Linked DNA regions of Homo sapiens: region 2 is linked to region 1. The links are contacts of gene promoters, found by promoter capture Hi-C in blood cells and fetal thymus (Javierre and others, 2016). All regions are on one chromosome and are shown on one strand. Each heading gives the region's core, a stretch centred on a gene start or on the middle of the fragment in contact. The rest is flanking DNA. Distances are from core to core; before and after follow the strand shown.

Region 1 (2,894 bases), core at 196-2,695:
ATCTTGGTTTCTGACCGTTGGTCCTCAAAACACTGCAAAGCCACCCACTTGTATGCACTCCGGACTCCAGGTCCCTGGCCTTCTTTTTTTTTTTTTTTTTTTTTTGAGATGTAGCCTCTTTCCTGTCACGCAACCTTGAGTGCAATGCAGTGGCGCGATCTCAGCTCACTGCAACCTCCACCTCCCGAGTTCAAGCGATTCTCCTTCCTCAGCCTCCAGAGTAGCTGAGATTACAGGCGTGCGCCACCACACCCAGCTAATTTTTGTATTTTTAGCAGAGACGGGGTTTTACCATGTTGGCCAGGCTGGTCTTGAACTCCTGACCTGAGGTGATCCACCCACCTTGGCCTCCCGAAGTGCTAAGATTACAGGCATGAGCCACTGCACCCGGCCTTTTTTTTTTTTTTTTTTTTTTTTGAGACAGAGTTTTGCTCTTGTTGCCTAGGCTGGAGTGCAATGGTGTGATCTCGGCTTACCGCAGCCTCCACCTCCTGGGTTCAAGCGATTCTCCCACCTCAGCCTCCCAAGTAGCTGGAATTACAGGCATGCACCACCACATCCAGCTAATTTTGTTTTGTCAGTGGAGATGGGGTTTCTCCACGTTGATCAGGCTGGCCTCAAACTCCTGACCTGGGACTACAGGTGTGCACCACCATGCCCAGCTAATTTTTGTGTTTTTTTTGGTAGAGGTGGTGTTTCGCCACATTGCCCAGGCTGGTCTCAAACACAAGTTGTTTGTCAGAGACCAGCCTGCAATTCTCCCAGGGTGCTGGGATTACAGGCGTGAGCTACCATGCCCAGCCTAGGGGCCTCTTTTATAAGGGCATTAATCCCATTCATGAGAGCTCAACCCTCATGATCTAATCACCTCTTAAAAGGTTCCGATTCTGAATACCACCGCCTTCGAGGTTAGGATTTCAATGTATTAATTTTGGGGAGACGCAAACTCTCAGACCATCACAGTATTTTATCTTTTTCAGTGCTGCTGCAAAGGAAATTTTTCAAAATTTTTTTATGTTCCAATTGTTTGCTGCTGGTGTATAAAAATTCAATTGACTTTTGTATTGAATTCAACGGACTTTTTAAACCTGGTAACTTGCTGAATTTATGTATTAATTTCAGTAGTTGTCTTATAGATTCCCTTGGGTTTTTGACATAAACAATCATATCATCAGCAAATAGCAACAGTTTTATTTACCTTTTTTTTATTACTTATTTTATTCTGTTTTGCTTGTTACAGAATCTTGCTATGTTGCCTTTAAATTCTTGGGCTCCCATTTCAGCTTCTCCAGTAGCTGAGGCTACAAGCATGTATCACCATGCCCAGCCACACCTGACTTGTTTATTTTTCTCATATATTTTTTTGTTTTAAGACAGGATCTCGCTCTGTTGCCCAGACTGGAGTGTAATGGTGTGATGATGGCTTACTGCAGCCTTGTCCTCCCTGACTCAAGCAATCCTCAGCCTCCCAAATAGCTGGGACAACAGGTGTGAGCTATCACACCCTGCCAATTTTTAATTTTTTTTTTTTTTTTGAGACAGAGTCTCCCTCTGTCACCTAGGCTGGAGTGCAGTGGCGCGATCTTGGCTCACTGCAACCTTCACCTCCCGGGTTCAAGCGATTCTCCTGCCTCAGCCTCCTGAGTAGCTGGGATTACAGGCGCGCATCACCACGCACGGCTAATTTTTGTATTTTTACCATGCCTGGCTAATTTTTGTATTTTTAGTAGAGATGGGGTTTCACCATGTTGATCAGGCTGGTCTTGAACTCCTGACCTTGTGATTCTCCCACCTCAGCCTCCCAAAGTGCTGGGATTACAGGCGTGAGCCACCATGCCCAGCTTTTCTTTTCTTTCTTTCTTTTTTTTTTTTTTTAGACGGAGTCTCACTCTGTCACCCAGGCTGGAGTGCAGTGGCCCGATCTTGGCTCACTGCAAGCTCCGCCTCCCTGGTTCACACCATTCTCCTGCCTCAGCCTGCTTTTTCTTTTCTTATTACAGTGGCTAACATCACCAGAACAATGTTGAATAGAGGTGGTGAAAATGGACATCCTTGTCTTGTTTCCAATCTCAGGAGGAAGTTATTCAGTCTTTTACCATTTTTGTTTTTGTTTTTGAGATGTAGTCTCGCTCTGTCGCCCAGGCTGGAGTACAGTGGCACTATCTTGGCTCCCTGCAACCTCTGCCTCCTGGACTCAAGCCATCCTCCCACTTCAGTCTTCCAAGTAGCTGAGACTACAGGTGCACACCACCATGCCTGGCTAATTTTTGTATGTTTTGTAGAGACGGATCTCACCATGTTGCCCAGGCTAATCTCCAACTCCTGAGCTCAAATGATCCTCCCATGTTGACTTCCCAAAGTGCTCAGATTACAGGCATGAGCCACCGTGCCTGGCCCTGCCTCACTGTACTCTTAATTTTCATTTGGCAAGTGAAGCTGAGGAAATTTTTCTGGGTTTAAGAGCTATTTGTCCTCCATTTTCTCTGACTTCTGGATTCATATCCACCTAACTGGTTGGCATTTTCTTACTGCTTTCTAGATGTTACTTATATAACGAGGATATTTTATCCATGAGTTCAATTTTGTTTCCAGTTACACTTTGATTGTATTTTATTCTTTGATTGTATTTATGGACTTCTTGTCAGCAGAAAAATCTGGGTGTTTGCATCACTGACGTGCCCCATTTTTCTCGGGCAAGTTCTGGGTTCTGTCCCCAGAACTTCCTTTTTTTAAAAAAAATTATTTATTTATTTATTTATTTTTTGATACGGAGTCTTGCTGTGTCGCCCAGGCTGGAGTGCAGTTGTGCGATCTCGGCTCACTGCAACCTCCGCCTCCCAGGTTCAAGTGATTCTCTTGCCTCAGCCTCCTGAGTAGCTGGGACTGCAGGCGCC
Region 2 (2,894 bases), core at 210-2,709, 300 kb after region 1:
CAAAAGCTAATTCTGCCCAATAAATTAAGTTGACAATAACACCAGCAATGACAGTAATCATGATAATAAAATCACTGAGAGCCAAGCCCATGCCAGACCCAAGGGCTCCACATCCATTAACTGGATAATCTTCAGAGACAAACCCAAAAAGAGAATTATATTAATACGCTCATTTTCTTTTCTTTTTCTTTTTTTAGAGGCAGGTCTTACTCTGTAGCCCAGGCTGGAGTGCAGTGGTGCAATCATAGGTCACTGCAGCCTCGAACTCCTGGGCTCAAGCGATTCTCCTGCGTCAGCCTCCTGAATAGCTGGGACTACAGGCACACACCACCGCACCTGGCTAATTTTTGTATTTTTTTTCTAGAGACGGGGTTTTGCCATGTTGGCAAGGCTGGTGTCGAACTCCTGAGCTCAAGTGACCCGCTTACCTTGGCCTCCCAAATTGCTAGGATTACTGCGTGAGCCACTGCACCCGGACCCATTTTCCATTTGAGAAAACTGAGGCAGGGAGTGAGAAGTCACCAGTCAAAGGTTTCTTCAGAGCTCTGCCCCATTCCCTACCAAGAAAGCATCCACTTCCTCCTGGGCCATCTGGTCCTGGACTCCACCCACGCCGGTCTGAGGGCAGGGGTTTGACTGGGGCCTGGAGCCAGGCTGAGTTCAAGCTTAAGGGCAGCAGCCGGCACAGAAAGGCTTGCTGTTAGATGTGGCCTCTGGCAACGCCCCAGTGGGGGCTCTGGGCTCCGTCCTTTGGAGGTGTACGTGCCCCAGAGGGAGTTAGAGCCCCAGTTAGTGAGGCCGGAGCTGCCCTAGTAGGGTCCAGCAGGCAGAAGCGGTGCCCAGCCCACCCCAAAGGAGCCAGCAGGAGGAACTCGGTCCCGCTTGTGTTGTGGGGAGGGCTGTGTCTGGCCCCATGGGAGGACAGCAGGCAGGGGGCACGCGTGGACCCGTCCCGATGGGGGCAGCGGGCAGGGGCATGCGTAGAACCGTCCCGATGGGGGTAGCGAGCAGGAAGCACGCGCGGACCCGCCCAGAAGAGGACAGCGGGCAGGGGCTCGCGTGGACCCACCCCTATGGGGACAGCAAGCAGGGGCTCGCGTGACCCGCCTGATGGGGACAGCGGGCTCGACTCACCATAGCGCCGTGCGCTCCCGCGGGTGCCGCAGCCGCTCGAGTGCGCCCAGCGTGGTGGGCAACGCGTGGGCCGCGTTTCGCGCCAACAGCGCGATGAGCACGCGCGGCGCCTGCAGGGGCGACTCCGGGCTCCAGCGCTCCTCGGGGAAGTAGGCGTCGGCGCCCGGCGGGGCCCCCGGCGGCAGTGGCGCCAGCAGCAGAAGCAGCAGCGCCAGGAGCGGCTGCCCGCGCCGCCGGCCCGCGCGTGGGGCCGCCGCCATCGCGCCACGCGTCTCCTTTAAGTCGTTTTTCTGCGGGAGGACTCTGGCCGCGCCTTAAAGGGGTCATAGGGGCCCCGCCCGGCCGCGCGCCTTAAAGGGGAGGAGCGCGCCGGGCGTGAAGTCCAGGCCCCGCCTCCAGACGCTCTCCGAGTCCCAAGGCCCGGAGTGACGTCACCTGCAGCCCTACCCAGGACGCCCCGCCCCCGCACCGATCTTAAAGGCACATAGCGCTCGGAGCGCGTGGAAGGGATGTTAGGGGTAGCGTTAGGGTTAGGAACCCGCGCTTCCTCCAGGCGCCTCCTACCACTGAGACCTCCGCCAGATGCGCCGCCCAATTTCCCCATGTATAAAACCCGGGCTGTGCCACCAGGCGGACTTGGCTACTTAGGACCTGGTTTGGGACCCAAGAGACCTTAGCCTCAGTTTCCTCTGCTGCAACGTGGGTTTTGCCATCCTGGTTTTGGATCTCACAGGGATGTCATTGAGGGTTGTGGAGAATAAAGGTCATGACGTCCACAGACCTGGCGTCACATTCAGTCCCCGCCTTGGGCTTGCTATATGTGAGCCTCAGTCTGTCCATCTATAAAATGAGATCATAGAGACCCTATAGGGTTGGCGTGAAAATAGAGCCAGGGCATGATAATGGACCGTTCTGGGCACAAGCTCTTCCAGAGACAAGGGCCATGTTTTCATGGAAACGCTGTCAAGGGATTGTTTTCCAATACTCTAGAGCCGCATTTTCAAATTGATTGACTTAGTATCACACTTTTTTTTTTTTTTTTTTGAGACGGAGTCTGGCTTTGTTGCCCGGGCTGGAGTGCAGTGGTGCAACATAGCAAGACCGTGCCTCTATTTTTAAAAACAATAAAAACTTTAAAAAATACATCTGAACATTATTATTATTATTATTATTATTTTCTTTTTTTTTTTTTTTGAGACAGCGTCTCACTCCATTGCCCCGGCTAGAGTACAGTGGCGCGATCTCGGCTCACTGCAACCTCCGCCTCCCGGGTTCAAGCGATTCTCCTGCTTCAGCCTCCTGAGTAGCTGGGACTACAGGCACGCGCCACCACGCCCGGCTAATTTTTGTTTATAGTAGAGATGGGGTTTCACCATATTGGCCAGGCTGGTCTCGAACTCCTGACCTCCTGATCCGCCCACCTCAGCCTCCCAAAGTGCTGGGATTACAGGCGTGAGCCACCGCGCCCAGCTTATTATTATTTTCACAGAGAGGGTCTTACTCTGTGGCTCAGGCTAGAGTGCAGTGGCATGATCACATGATCATGGCTCACTGCAGCCTCAACCTCCTGGGCTCAACTGATCCTCCTGCCTCAGCCTCCCAAGTAGCTGGGACTACAAGTGCACTCAACCACGCCCAGCTAATTTTTAAATTTTTTGTAGAGATGGAGTCTCGCTATGTTGCCCCGGCTGTTCTCAAACTCCTGGTCTCAAGTAATCCTCCCCCTTCAGCCTCCCAAACTGCTGGGATTACCAGTGAGC

What was found. Contacts are between HindIII fragments. The CHiCAGO score rates a contact against its expected background, and 5 or more counts as called.
Region 2: a contact is called between the fragment with the promoter of COLGALT1 here and a fragment that was not itself captured in region 1, in 5 of 17 cell types (M0 macrophages, M2 macrophages, endothelial precursors and 2 more). The highest score is 8.9, in M0 macrophages.

The regions. Positions count from the first base shown.
Region 1 is chr19:17,851,060-17,853,953 of GRCh38, reverse strand. No RefSeq gene overlaps it. Among named protein-coding and RNA genes, the nearest start is that of JAK3, 4.5 kb to the right of the region's middle. The HindIII fragment of the contact is 3,709 bases long and covers 1-2,894 here.
Region 2 is chr19:17,554,214-17,557,107 of GRCh38, reverse strand. COLGALT1 (collagen beta(1-O)galactosyltransferase 1) reads right to left here and starts at 1,459. Exons shown (of 12, transcript NM_024656.4): 1 at 1,135-1,459. The coding sequence starts at 1,394. It also overlaps a transcript of NIBAN3 not described here. RefSeq lists a silencer at 1,292-1,381. The HindIII fragment of the contact is 3,085 bases long and covers 668-2,894 here.